4 separate regions of the Homo sapiens genome follow, and all the other regions are linked to region 1. The links are contacts of gene promoters, found by promoter capture Hi-C in blood cells and fetal thymus (Javierre and others, 2016). All regions are on one chromosome and are shown on one strand. Each heading gives the region's core, a stretch centred on a gene start or on the middle of the fragment in contact. The rest is flanking DNA. Distances are from core to core; before and after follow the strand shown. Region 1 holds the start of GPR142 (G protein-coupled receptor 142). Region 2 holds the start of CD300C (CD300c molecule). Region 3 overlaps CD300LB (CD300 molecule like family member b). Region 4 has its middle 21 kb from the start of CD300LB.

Region 1 (3,584 bases), core at 284-2,783:
TCGTGCCAGGTAGGAGTGGTAAGGCTGCCACAGACAGGGCTATGATCCCAAGAGGCTCAGGGGACCAGGTGCACAGGGTCAGTCCTGCAGTGGCCATGGTGGGGGAGGTGGAGGCTACCCCCAGGGGCAGGATGGCAGGCAGCCGTGCACAGGGTGGGGCATCCTCTGGGAGCAGCCGGACGAGGCTGCCTGCAGCCGGTGCTGGGAAACCACAGTCCTGCAAGCTGTTGTTTCCCTGGCCCTGGTGAAATGGACCATCCCTCAAGAATATCAATCCCTGGCAAATAAACAACAGCCGTTGCTGGTGTGCACTCAGAAGAGGCCAGACTGGCTCTCCTGCCCTAGAGGAAGAGTGACCAGAGCAGCCCACAAGCAGGTACCCGGGACATGGATGCCCCGTGGACGGTCTCGGGAGGAGAGCTCAGGCCCCCCTGGAATCACCTCCCATGGCCTGTCCTCTGGGAATGCAGCAGAAAATATGGCAGGAAATATAGGGAGCTTCCCAGCTCTGGGAGTTAGATCTCACATCAGAGCCTGGAACTCCCCATCCCAACCCCCCCTCGGATACTCACAGCGCAGGCCCTGCTGCCCCCTGGTGGCCACATCCTGACCCTGCAAGCCTGAAAGTCCCATGGTTTGGCTAGGCACCCTGGGTGGCACAGTGGGACTGGAGACGGAGCTGCCCGCTCAGGGCAGGTCCTCTGGTGGAGTGCTGGGACCCCAGCCCCAGAAAGTGCAAGTAGCACAGATGACGCCCCAGGCCACCACCTCCTTGCAGCAGGAGGCTAGGGGTGAGAGGAGGCTGACCCTCTCTTCAAGGAGCTGCCATGGGTGAGGGGCAAGGAGGGTCCCTGCCAACATTTACCGAGTGCCCACCCTGTCCCTACACTTTGTTTTTTAAATTTTATGTATAGATATAGAGAGAGTTTGGGGCCTCGCTGTGTTGCCGAGGCTGGTCTGGAACTCCAGGCTTCAAGTGGTCCTTCTGCCTTGGCCTCTCAAAGAGCTGGGATTACAGGTGTGAGTCACCATGCCAAGCCCACTTTGTTTCTTTGAGGGATGTACACTTGACTGGAAACCTTAAATATTCTTCAGACGGAACACAAGGGTTTCAACCAAGGCTGTCACACAGGCTACACAGAAAACTAGAGCTCCCTGGATTCAGAGCGAGGAGAGGGAGAGATGGAGGAGGGGGACTGAGTTTGCTACAATGATGCCCCATGCACGTCCTTCCAGCAACTTACCATCCCACCCCATAGAAGGCCTGTTCTGGGAGGCAGCTGGATTCACCTGGCGGAAACTGCTGGAGTCCTTGGATGGCCTTATTCGGAGGTCCCAGCTTCCCCCTGTGACCTGTGGAGACCTCAGCCACCTGGAATGGCTGAGACAAGAATGCTGGCTTTTCTGTGCATGGGACACCATTGATTTGTCTTCCTCAGTATATGCTTCTGTACCCAGGACAGCAGTGATGTCCTGCAGGGAAGTGGGGACCCACTGGATCTTTTGCTCCATGGGCAACATCATAATACTCATTGCTAACAACGCTGGGATCCATGGTTCAAGAGATGGAGCCTGGAGATGTCCAGCTCAGTGGCAGCAGCAGACAGGACAGGGCAACCACGTCATCAGCCAGCACACAGCCTATACAGAGGTGAGAGGCCCCTTCTTGGTGGTGGCGATTCTTTCCTACATGGTGTGGTGTCAGTGACCAGGGTAGGCTGCTAGCCCACGGTGGAAGGGATCCTATCCACTAAGGCAGTCACCTCTGAGCCAGCCTGGGCAAGGTGAAAGATGTTATGAAGACCCAGCCGCACACCTTGACTTTTTTTTTCTTTTCTTTTTGAGACAGAGTCTCGCTCTGTCACCCAGGCTGGAGTGCAATGGTGCTATCTCGGCTCACTGCAACCTCTGCCTCCTGGGTTCCAGTGATTCTCCTGCCTCAGCCTCCCAAGTAGCTGGGATTACAGGTGCCTGCCACCATGCCTGGCTAATTTTTGTATTTTTAGTAGAGACGGGGTTTCACCGTGTTAGCCAGGCTGGTCCTGAGCTCCTGGCCTCAGGTGATATGCCCACCTGGGTCTCCCAAAAATGCTGGGATCACAGGTGTGAGCCACCGCACCCGGCCACACCTTGACCTTTTTGGTCTCTGAAGTCTTCAGCCCTGATCAGTCCAGCCAGAGCCACCAGGCCTGAGCACCAGGGTCTCTCTCTCTCTTTTTTTTCCTTCTGCCTCCCTACCCCTCAAGACAGGGTCTCACTCTGTCACCCAGGCTGTGGTACAGTGGTGTGATCATAGCTCACTGCAGCCTCGAACTCCCAGGCTCAAGTGATCCTCCCATCTCAGCCTCCCAAATAGCTGGCATTACAGGCAAGCACCAACACGCCCAGCTAATTTTCGTATTTTTTGTAGAGACGGTGTTTCGCCATGTTGCCTAGGCTGGTCTCGAGCTCCTGGGCTCATGCAATCCACCTGCCTCGGCCTCCCAGAGTGCTGGGATTACAGATGTGAGCCACCACACCTGGCCAAGGATTCCTTCTTATTTAAGTTTTTGTTTGTTTGAGACAGAGTCTCACCCTGTTGCCCAGGCTGGAGTGCAGGGGTGCAATCTCAGCTCACTGCAACCTCTGCTTCCCGGGTTCAAGCGATTTTCCTGCCTCAGCCTCCCAAGTAGCTGGGATTACAGTCACCAGCCACCAAGCTTGGCTAATATTTGTAGTTTTAGTAGAGACGGGGTTTTACCATGTTGCCCGGGCTGGGCTTGAACTCCTGACCTCAAGTGATCCACCCGCCTCAGCCTCCCAAAGTGCTGGAATTAAAGGTGTGAGACATCATGCCCGGCCTCATATTTACCTTTATGTGCTCCCCTGTGTACACGGGGCCTGGAACTTAAACCCATGATCTCCTGTCCCCAGTCCAAGTGGCCCAGTGACTCAGGGAACCCTAAGTCAGGACAGGAGGCACTACAGATGCAAGGGAGGGTGCCAGGTAGGGCCAGGCTGCGTCTGGAGCCCACCCCTCTGAGGTGTTACCACAGTCCAGTGTCTGATCACCCCCTTTGCAGATTCAGAAACTCTTTATCTGGTCCCAAGCTTGCAAGAGTTTTCCGTTGCTTTTACAGTACTAGAGATTCCTTGTCCAAAGGGATCACTTATCACAATTGGAAAAACTTCCCCAAAAAGACAGCATGGGCTGGACATGGTGGCTCACATCTGTAATCCCAGCACTTTGGGGAGGCCGAGGCGGGCAGATCACGAGGTCAGGAGATCGAGACCATCCTGGCCAACATGGTGAAACCCCGTCTCTACTAAAAATACAACAATTAGCCAGCCACTACAGGTAGTGGGTACCTGTAGTCCCAGCTACTCCGGAGGCAAAGGCAGGAGAATCGCCTGCACCCAGGAGGCAGAGGTTGCAGTGAGCTGAGATCGCACCACTGTACTCCAGCCTGGCGACAGAGTGAGACTCCATCTCAAACAAAACAAAACAAAACAAAACAAAACAAAAACACAACATGGGGTTGTGGAAAGAAAAGTCAAGTAGCCAGGTGCAGTGGTTCATACCTGTGGTCCCAGCTACTTGGAAG
Region 2 (3,584 bases), core at 472-2,971, 180 kb before region 1:
CCCATTCATCCTTTCAACAGCCAGTTTGTTAAACTGCACTTGGCAGACTCTGGAATGATAACGGGCACAGCTGTGAATGAGACAAGAGGCTGCACCTGCTCTCAAGGGGCGGCCACCCTAGATGGGAGCAGACATTGACTCGCCAACAGAAAGACTGAGGAAGACGAGAGGGAAGTGTGAAATGGGTCATGAGGACCCCTAAAAAGCGAGCCACCATAACCCGGGAAGGTCAAGGAACACGCAGGCAACCCTGTCGGCTGGAGCCAGGCAGAGGAGTGGGAGGTTGAGGGTCTGGACAAAGGCCCGAGTGGGGAGGGTGGCAGCACCAGTGTGAACCTGGATCCAGGAGGCTGGAGACACCTACCAGGTGCTGGGGCCTGCCAGGACCTGTGTGCAGAGGCCAGGTCAGGTGGGTGCCATCCTGTGACAGCAGGAGCCATTGGGAGTTCAGCAGCGCCTCCCCAGGGCCATGTGTGTGTGTCAGGGATCACATTGCTGATTCTGTGGAGAATGAAAGGGGTGGGTATGAGCAGAAGGGGAGACCAGGTCAGCCCATGAAAGAGCCGGGATACTTCAAAGCCAGGCCCAGGCCAGACCTGAGCACTGGGCTAATTGGAGGCCCTGGGATTGCACTGGGCTAGAGATAGTCCCATGATGTGAGTCTGGGGGCATCAACACCAATGACCCCAGTGCATGCTGTGTCCCTGAGAGTGTAAATGGAGGGAGGACAGGGCAGGTCGAGGGTGCAGAGACCCCTTCATGGTGCCAGGTTTGCCCAGACTCCCATCACTCTCCACTCAACCTCATGGCTGTGTGCACATACTGGTGCTATTGACTCTGATAGGAAGAAAGGAACAGAAATCTGTAGGAGGGTTGGGAGAGTCAAGGAATATGCTTAAGGCATGAGAAGGTGGAGAAGGGGTGATGCCCTCCAGGACAGACAGGAGGTAAATCCTGTGTCTGACTAGCCTCCTTGCCCTTTCCAGGGTAAAGACACCCTGAGCCCATCACGTCAGGAGAACCAGCCATGCCGAGTGTGGATAGACCTGGGTTCCCGCCTCCTGGGAAGGCCTGTCTGCCATGTCTGCTCCCTGCGGAGGCCCCTGGCCATCACAGTGGACCCAGGATAGACACCAGCAGCCGCTGCTCATGACAAACTGTCCTCTCAGTCACCAAACACCCCTCCGTGTGCCCTGGGGTGTGTGCTGGCTCAGTCGCAGCCTCACATCCTCCACAAAGTCCCACTTCAGCATCTTCACATGTCTGAACTCTCTCTCTATTCTCAGTTCTCTGCCCTGATTCCCACTGGGGCATGGATTTTGGCAAGAAGACAAGATGGAAAAGGAGGGTCTCGGGTGGGTGATGCCGCTGTGTGTGTAGGTCTGGGGGCAGGGGCACAAGAGGAAAACTCCCCAAGCCTGTGGGATTTTAACCTGGTTGGGGACTCAGCACCAAAAAGGGACATGCAGATGGTGTCTGGGTTCATAGCGCTAACTTCTGAGGCCAGAAGAAGAGCTGGGGGTCTTAGGGGCAGAGGTCTCTGCGGGGACCTAGCTGAAGATTAAGGGACACAACCTCTCTCTGGTCACCTCCAAGGCTAAAGAAGGTGGCAGATTTAGCCTCCAACCACAAGATTGTCCATCCTGACCAGGAAGTGACATGTCACAGAGGGTGGAGCAGCCCATGTGGTAGGAAATGGCCCAGCTTGGCTCTGCCTTCTGCAGTGTGAGTAACACACTGAAGCCAGAAGCTGTGGGCTGTGGGGAAGTGGCTGCATCGCCACCCAAGGGACCCTGGACTTTGCCAGACGTCAGGGTTGAGAGGAGCCACTAGCACCATCCCAGAGCTGTCAGCACCGGCCTCAGCCCAGGCGGCTCTCTCCCTGAGCTTCCTGTACCCTGACCCTCTCCAGCCTCAGACCTGAGACAGGGCTGGACAAGGAAGCAGAGAGCAGAAGAAAAGCAGAAGCGAAGCTCAGATCTGCTGGGAGGAGATTACATTTTGTCCCCTCCTGGGGTCTTGCACAGTGGCAGGTGACATTCGTGTTACAGGAATGACTGCCAGGGCCTGGGCCTCGTGGCGGTCTTCAGCTCTGCTCCTCCTGCTTGTCCCAGGTGAGTGGGCCGACCCTGGACTTGGGGAGCTCTGTCCTGAGTGGGAGAGGGCAGGGAGGGGTGCAGGCGCTGGAGTAGCGGTCATAGAGGGGAGTGGGGCAGGGAGAGGGGAGGAGGGCAAAGGAGCACCCAGGAGCGGTCAGCAGCTGCCTCACCAGGGGACAGCAGGCGGCAGGGCACAGCACGGGGGAGGCCTATTCCTCTGTGCCCGAGACAGGAAGCCCTGGTGGGAGGTGATGCTGTGACTGTCATTGCCAAAGTTATCCAATCACAAATTTTATCTGGGACGATCACACACACAGTCACACTCACACGCACACACGGTCACACTCACACAGTCTCACACACATGCACACACAGTCACACTCACACAGTCTCACACACACATGCACACAGTCACACATGCACACACAGTCACACTCACATGCACACACAGTCACACATGCACACACAGTCACACACAGTCACACTCACACAGACAGTCACACTCACACAGTCACACACACAGAGTCACACTCACATGCACACACAGGCCCGCACACACCCAGTGTTTCCCTAGCCTTGCCTTTCCAGTCTCCATGGAAACTTCCCATGCCCTTCCCACCTCTGCACAGAGGGAGCCTCCCACCCTCAGTCCCTGTTCCTGGGTGGACAAAGGCTGCCTGCCTGCCATTGCCTTCTCCACACGCCCAGGGTCCATGAGGGGCTGACACTGCGGCACCCCTGACCAGGCCCCTCTGGTAAGGAGACAGGATTTTGGCTTGTATTTTTCAGGCTATTTTCCTCTGAGCCACCCCATGACCGTGGCGGGCCCCGTGGGGGGATCCCTGAGTGTGCAGTGTCGCTATGAGAAGGAACACAGGACCCTCAACAAATTCTGGTGCAGACCACCACAGATTCTCCGATGTGACAAGATTGTGGAGACCAAAGGGTCAGCAGGGAAAAGGAATGGCCGAGTGTCCATCAGGGACAGTCCTGCAAACCTCAGCTTCACAGTGACCCTGGAGAATCTCACAGAGGAGGACGCAGGCACCTACTGGTGTGGGGTGGATACACCGTGGCTCCGAGACTTTCATGATCCCATTGTCGAGGTTGAGGTGTCCGTGTTCCCGGGTGAGCCCCTCCTTTTCTCAGCACCAGGCCTGCCTGAGCCTAGGGCTGGTCATTCTGTCCCTGAAGAAAGAAGTGGAACAGGAGGGTGTGAGCCTGGGGGTTGGTGAGTCAGGACACTGTGTGCCGCTGTGTGTGGATGAGTGTGAGTGCGTCTTTGTGTATGCGTGCCTGCATAGGAGTTGTGGTGTGGTTTGTGTGTGTGTGCACCTGCATGTGTGTGTTGGGAGGGTGGGCGCCCACAAAAGCACCCTGGCCCTGTGGCTGGAGACCCCCCGCTGTGGGCCCTCCCTCACGGCCTCAGGCCTGAAACTTTCCTGGGTGGGGTCTGTGAGGCCACCCCTGACTCTGGGGTCCTTG
Region 3 (3,584 bases), core at 664-3,163, 160 kb before region 1:
ATGACTGAAGCTGGGATTGATGACACTTTGTTCAATGCAGCAGCATCTCTTTTCTGCTGTTAGTGATTGCTGACAAATCCAATTTATGTTTTTGGGTATTTTGTTTTTGTTTTTGTTTTTTGTTTTTGAGACGGAGTTTCACTCTGTCACCCAGGTTGGAGTGCAGTGGTGCAACCTTGGCTCACTGCAACCTCCGCCTCCCAGGTTCGAGTGATTCTTCTGCCTCAGTCTCCCAAGAAGCTGGGATTAAGGTGCCTGCCACCATGCCTGGCTAATTTTTGTAATTTTAGTAGAGACAGGATTTCACCATGTTGGTGAGGTTGGTCTTGAACTCCTGACCTCAGGTGATCCACCCACCTTGGCCTCCCAAAGTGCGGGAATACAGGCATGAGCCACCGTGCCCGGCCCCGAAAAGACTTTTAGATGCTCAGGGCAAGTGCAGCTGATGAGGAGGAGGAGACAGTCTCAGTACCCAACTCAGGCAGCAGTATGGAGAGGAAAGCTGAGGGAGCTGTCAGTGTGCAGGACATCTTGGGGGTGGCGAGTTGGATATGAGGTTGGAAACACAAAAGACAAGATTATGAAGGCCATAATCCTCAGGAGAGGAGAGTTGGGGAGGATGCTGCTGGGGCTGGGAAGACCTCTCCAGATGCCACTGCCATGATCCAGGCACAGATGAAGTTCTGACCTGTTGATGAGCTGTCACTGACAGAGCAAACCCCAAATGTCTGGCGTTGGACATACATCCAAGTCTTCTTTTAAATTTAAAAATAAATAATTTTTTGAAGACAGTGTCTCACTCTGTCACCCAGGCTGAAGTGCAGTGGTGGGCGATTATAACTCACTGCAGCCTTGAACTCTCAGGCTCAGGCGATCCTCCCACCTCAGCCCCCCAAGCAGTGGGGACCACAGGCATGCACCACCACTCCTGGCTAATCTTTTGCATTTGCAGACACAGGGTTTCACCATGTTGCCCAGGTTAGTCTGGAACTCCTGGGCTCAAGCGATCCTCCTGCCTCAGCCTCCCACAGCTTTGGAATTACAGGCATGAGCCACCTTGCCCAGCCTACACACATCCAAGTCCTATTACCACCTTCAAAGTAGAGCGTAGCATGACTGTCTTATGAATAAGGAAGCGATACTTGCAGAGGTTAAGCAACTCTGCCAGGGTTTCCCAACTAGTTCAGTGTCAAGTCTTTCTGCATCAAAGCTCACACTCTCTCTGATGTCATGCTGTCCTTGTGGCCTGCGATGGCAGAGACTGAAAGAAGAAAAAAAAAAACTGAGGAGCATCTCTAGGATAGAGCTGACTAAACTGGCTACCAATCAGCTCGGGGGCTGAAGGAGAGGACAGCATGAAAGAAGATGCCAAGCTCTTCCTGAAGGCTGGGTGGTGGAGCTGCTGGTTTGAAGAGAATCAAGTTGGTTCTGCTGATTGAATGCCATGTGAATTTCCAGTGGCTGCTGTAACAAATTAACATGAACTCTATGGCTTAGAACTGCACAATTTCATCATCTCATTGATGCTTCTGAAGACCAGAGCCTGGCGTGGTCTTACTGGTTAAAATTGAGGTGCAAGTAGGGTTGGGTTTCTTTAGAGCAGTGGTCCCCAACCTTTTTGGCACCAGGATCCGGTTTTGTGGAAGACAATTTTTCCACATCAGGAGTGGGGTGAGGATGGTTTGGGATGATTCAAACGCATTACACTTATTGTATACTTTATATTACTATTATATTATAATATATAATGAAATGATTATACACTGCACCATAATGTAGAATCAGTGGGAGCCCTAAGCTTGTTTACCTGCAACTAGATGATCCCATCTGGGGGTGATGGGAGACAGTGACACATCATCAGGCATTAGAGTCTCATAAAGTGTGTGCAATCTAGATCCCTCACACACGAAGTTCACAATAGGGTTCTCACTTCTATGAGAATCTAATGCGGCCGCTGGTCTGATGGGAGGCGGAGATCAGGTGGTAGTTTGAACAACGGGGAGTGGCTGTAAATACAGATGAAGCTTCGCTTGCTTGCCCACCGCTCACCTCCTGCTGTAAGGTCCGGTTCCTAACAGGCCATGGGCTGTTACTAGTCTGTTGTCCTGGGGTTGGGAACCCCTATTCTAGGGGAGAATCTGTTTCCCTGCATTTTCCAGCTTCTAGAAGCCATCTGCTTTCCTTGGCCGGTGGCCTCTTCTTCCACTTCAAAGCAGCAACAGACCATCTTCCAATTGGACTCTCCCTCAACCCTCTTTCACTTAGAATATCCATGGAGATTATTCGGGATATTCTTCCTGTCTCAAGGTCCTTAACTTCATCACATCGGCAGAGTCCCTCTGGCCATGTCAGGGGACATATTCGCAGGTTCTGTGTATGAGGATGCCAACAGCTATGGGGGACATTATTCTACCAACCACGAATGCAAAGTTCAAGAAAACTAACACAGCTTCAAGGAGAAGGCCCAAGCTGTGAGGAGGCGGCATCTGCCTGGAGAAATAGACCTGGCTTTCTCCACCCTGCAGAGACCCCTGGCCTGGGCCTGAAGCTCTGAGGCCAAGAGACAGTCAAGAGAGGCTTCCCCTGTGATTCTCTGCCTGTTTATCCACTTCTGCGTGATCAAGAAACCCGTGTCATTGCCAAGGAAAGAGCCTATCTACACACAGCCTAACTGGAGTCAATCAGCGGAGGCACGGACTGCCATTTGATTATGCTCACCTCTAACCTGTTCAGCTTTCACCAGGCCTTTGTTACTCTTGCCACATCCAATTGCTCCACTAGAAAAAAATACTGAAGAAGAGTAGTTCAGGGTGGGAGAGGAAGTGCATTCAATTCTGCAACGAAGGAATCTGGGGTGGAGACATCCAGTGTGTCTTTGTAAATGGTGGGCTAGCTAAGGGGAGTCTGAGCTGCAAATATGGATTTGGGAATCATCAGGAAACAGGTAATCATTAAAGCCATGGAAATGGAGAGACTCCCTCCATGGAGGCTTGTCAGGTGAGACAAGATGAAGGCTGGAGAGGGAACCCTGGGTACCCCCGCAGTGTGCTGGGGCTGGCTCACAGGAGCTGGCTTGGGACATCTTTTCCCAGCTCTGTGTCCAGTGACATCACATGGATTACCTGACATCTGCCACCGTGGGAGTATTTACACTATGGAATTTGGCAAATATTAAAACCAGATTTTTTTTCTTTTTCTTTTTCTAGACAAGAGTCTCACTCTGTTGCCTAGGCTGGAGTGCAGTGGTGCGATCTCAGCTCACTGCAACCTCCGCCTCCCGGGTTCAAGCAATTTTCATGCTTCAGCCTCCCGCATAGCTGAGACTACAGGTGACTGCCACCACGCCCAGCTAATTTTTGTATTTTTAGTAAAGACTGGGTTTCACCATGTTGGCCATGCAGGTCTCGAACTCCTGACCTCAGGTGATCTGCCCACCTTGGCTTCCCAAAGTGCTGGGATTACAAGTGTGAGCCACCGTGCCCAGCTCCTAAACCAGAGATTTTTTCCCCCAGAGGGCTGGTTGTTAAATATTTGGCTCCGATGAAAACAGCATTGAGAGGACAAGGAAAGAAGGTGGTAGGAGA
Region 4 (3,584 bases), core at 409-2,908, 140 kb before region 1:
ACATAAATTTAATGAAGAGATCAAAATAATAAAAAAGAATTAAGCAGAAATTCCAGAGCTGAAAAATGAAATAGACACACCAAAGAATGCATCAGAATCTCCTAACAGCAGAATTGACCAAGCCAAAGAAAGAATTACTGAGCTTGAAGACAGGTTATTTGAAAATACAGAGTCAGAGGAGACAAAAGAAAAAGAATGAGAAAGAATGAAACATGCCTATAAGATCTAGAAAATAGTCTCAAAAGGGCAAATCTAAGCGTTACTGGCCTTAAGAGAAGGTAGAGACAGATCAGGATAGAAAGTTTTATCAACGGGATAATTACAGAGAACTTCCCAAACCTAGATAAAGATATCAGTGTTCAAATACCAGAAGGTTCCAGAAACCAAGCAGATTTAACCCAAATAAGACTATCTCAAGACACTTAATAAAAAAACTCCCAAAAGTCAAGGATAAAAAAAAGGGTCCTAAAAACAGAAAGAGAAGAGAAATAAGTAACATAAAAGGGAGCTCCAAAACTTCTGGCAGTAGGCTTCTTGAGGGAAATCTTACAGGCTGGGAGAGAGTGGTATTTAAGTGTTGAAGGAAAAAACTTTTATCGTAGAATAGTATATCTAGTGAAAATACCCTTCAAACATGAAGGAGAAATACTTTCTCAGACAAACAAAAGTTGAGCAATTTTATCAACACTAGACCTGTCCTATAAGAAATGCTAAAGGGACTTGAGGTCAGGAGTTTGAGACCAACCTGGACAACATGGTGAAACCTGTCTCCACTAAAAATACAACAATTAGCAGGGCATGGTGGTGCATGACTGTAATCCCAGCTACTTGGGAGGCTGAGGCTCGAGAATCACTTGAACCCGGGAGGCAGAGTTTGCAGTGAGCTGAGATTGTGCCATGCACTCCAGCCTGGGTGACAGAGTGAGACTCTCCATCTTAAAACAAATAAATAAATAAAAATAAAAAAAGAAAGAAGTGCTAAAGGCTAAAGGGAGTTCTTCAATCTTAAAGAAAAGGATGTTAATGAGCAGTAAGAAATCATCTGAAGGTACAAATCTCACTATTAATAGTAAGTACACAGAAAAACAGATTCTAACCCCTGAAATTGTGTGTAAATCACTTATATCTTGAGTAGAAAGACTAAAAGAAGAACCTATAAAATATATAAAAAATAATAACTATGCTTTTTTTTTTTGAGATGGGGTCTTACTTTGTTGTCCAGGCCTGGAGTGTAGTGACATGACCTTGGCTCACTGCAACTTCTGCCTCCCTGGCTCAAGTGATCCTCCCACCTCAGCCTCCTGAGTAGCTGGGACTACAGGTGCACACCACTACACCCGGCTATTTTTTGTATTTTTAGGAGGGACAAGTTTTTGCCATGTTGCCCAGGCTGGTCTTGAACTCTTGGGCTCCAGTGATCTGCCCACCTTGGCTTCCAAAAGTGCTGAGATTACTGGTGTGAGCCACCGCACCCAGCCTAAAGCAACATTTAAGACATTGAGAGTATAATAAGGTATCAATAGAAACAACAAAAAATTAAAAAGTGGGGGGATGAAGTTCAAGTGTAGAGTTTTTTTCTATTAGCCTTATATTTGCTTGTTTGTTAGCTTGTTATTACAATCAGTGTTAAGTTGTCATCAGCTTAAAATAATGAGTTATAAGATATTATTTCCAAGCCTCATGGTAATATCAACTCAAAAACATACACATACAACAGATACACAAAAAATAAAAAGTAAGAAATTAATACATATCACCAGACAAAATCAGCTTCAGTAAAAAGAAGACAAGAAGAAAAGAAAGAAGGAAGGAAGAGAAGGCCAGAAAACAACCAGTAAACAAGTAACAAAAGGGCAGGAGTAGTCTTTAGTTATCAATAATAACATTGAATGTAAATGGACTAAACACTTCAGTCAAAAGACATGGAGCAGCTGAATGGATTAAAAAGAAAAACTAGACCCAAGATCTGTTGCCTACAAGAAACACACTTCACCTATAAAGACATAAATAGGTGAATTAAAGGAATCGAAAAAGATATTTCATGCAAATGGAAACCAAAAAAGAGTATGAATAGCTATACTTATATCACATTACATAGATTTTAAGACAAAACTATAAAAAGAGACAAAGAAGAACATTATATAATAATAAAGAAATCAATTCAACAAGAGGATATAGCAATTGTAAGTATATATGCACCCAACAGTGGAGCACTCAGATATATATTGCAAATATCTTTATAGCTAAAATAATATATCCTCAATACAATAATTGCTGGAGACTTCTACACTACACTTTCAGCATTGGACAGTGCATCCAGACAGAAAATCAACAAAGAAACGTTGGACTTAATCTGTACTATAGACCAAATGGACCTAATAGATATTTAAAAGAACATTTCATTCAGCAGCTGCAGATACACAGTCTTCTCCTCAGCACATGGATCATTCTCAAGGATAGACCATATGTTAGGCCACAAAACAGGTCTTGAAATATTCAAAATAATTGAAATCATATCAAGTGTCTTCAGTGACCACAAAGAATAAAACTAGAAATCAATAACAAGAAGAATTTTGAAAACTATACAAAACATGGAAATTAAACAATATGCCCCTGAATAACTAGTGGGTTAATGAAAAAAAGTAAGAAGGAAATTTAAAAATTTCTTGAAACAAATGAAAATGGAAACACAACACAATAAAATCTATGGGATACAGTGAAAGCAGTATTGAGTATCTACATCAAAAAAAGTAGAAAAACCTCAAATAAACAACCTAATGATGCATCTTAAAGAACTAGAAATGCAAGAGTGAAGCAAACCCAAAATTAGTAGAAATAAAGAAATAATAAAGATCAGGGCAGAAATAAATGAAATTGAAATGAAGAAAATGCAAATGCAAAAGATCAATGAAACTAAAATAAATGAAATGGAAATGAAGGAAATACAAAAGATCAATGAAACTAAAAGTCATTTTGTTGAAAAGATAAACAAAATTGGCAAGTCTTTAGCCTGACTAAAAAAGAAAAAAATAGAGAAGACCCAAATAAATAAAGTCAGAGATGAAAAAGGAGACATTACAATTGATATCAACAAATTAAAAGGATCATTAGAGGCTACTATGAGCAGCTATATGCCAATAAATTGGAAAACCTAGAAGTGGATACATTCCTAAACACATACAATCTACCAAGATTGAACCATGAAGAAATCCAAAACCTTAATAGACCAGTAACAAGTAACAGGATGCCATGACAAAAAGTCTCTGAGCAAAGAAAAGCCTGGGACTCAATGGCTTCCCTGTTGAATTTTACCAAACATTTAAAGAACTAATACCAATCCTACTCAAACTATTCTGGAAAATAGAGGATGAGGGAATACTTCCAAACTCATTCAACAAGGCCAGTATTACCCTGACACCCAAACCAGACAAAGTCATATCAAAAAAAAAAAAAAAAAAAAAAAAAACCAAAAGTACAGGCCAACATCTGTGATGAATACTGATGCAAAAATTCTCAGCAAAATGTTAGCAAAACAAATTCAACAACACATTGAAAACATCATTTATCATAACCAAGTGGGATTT

What was found. Contacts are between HindIII fragments. The CHiCAGO score rates a contact against its expected background, and 5 or more counts as called.
Region 2: a contact is called between the fragment with the promoter of CD300C here and the fragment with the promoter of GPR142 in region 1, in 7 of 17 cell types (M2 macrophages, M0 macrophages, megakaryocytes and 4 more). The highest score is 6.8, in M2 macrophages.
Region 3: a contact is called between a fragment that was not itself captured here and the fragment with the promoter of GPR142 in region 1, in 13 of 17 cell types (megakaryocytes, naive CD8 T cells, total CD4 T cells and 10 more). The highest score is 11.4, in megakaryocytes.
Region 4: a contact is called between a fragment that was not itself captured here and the fragment with the promoter of GPR142 in region 1, in 1 of 17 cell types (fetal thymus). The highest score is 5.2, in fetal thymus.

The regions. Positions count from the first base shown.
Region 1 is chr17:74,365,455-74,369,038 of GRCh38, reverse strand. GPR142 (G protein-coupled receptor 142) reads right to left here and starts at 1,533. Exons shown (of 4, transcript NM_001331076.1): 1 at 1,245-1,533. RefSeq lists an enhancer at 1-919. The HindIII fragment of the contact is 12,679 bases long and covers 1-2,701 here.
Region 2 is chr17:74,544,252-74,547,835 of GRCh38, reverse strand. CD300C (CD300c molecule) reads left to right here and starts at 1,721. Exons shown (of 4, transcript NM_006678.5): 1 at 1,721-2,114; 2 at 2,889-3,227. The coding sequence starts at 2,054. It also overlaps a transcript of LOC107985074 not described here. The HindIII fragment of the contact is 25,491 bases long and covers 1-3,584 here.
Region 3 is chr17:74,526,333-74,529,916 of GRCh38, reverse strand. The region is part of intron 1 of CD300LB (CD300 molecule like family member b); the gene reads left to right. The region is part of intron 1 of LOC107985074 (a long non-coding RNA gene); the gene reads right to left. Among named protein-coding and RNA genes, the nearest start is that of CD300LB, 3.4 kb to the left of the region's middle. RefSeq lists an enhancer at 1,323-1,392. The HindIII fragment of the contact is 226 bases long and covers 1,801-2,026 here.
Region 4 is chr17:74,508,351-74,511,934 of GRCh38, reverse strand. No RefSeq gene overlaps it. Among named protein-coding and RNA genes, the nearest start is that of CD300LB, 21 kb to the left of the region's middle. The HindIII fragment of the contact is 7,162 bases long and covers 1-3,584 here.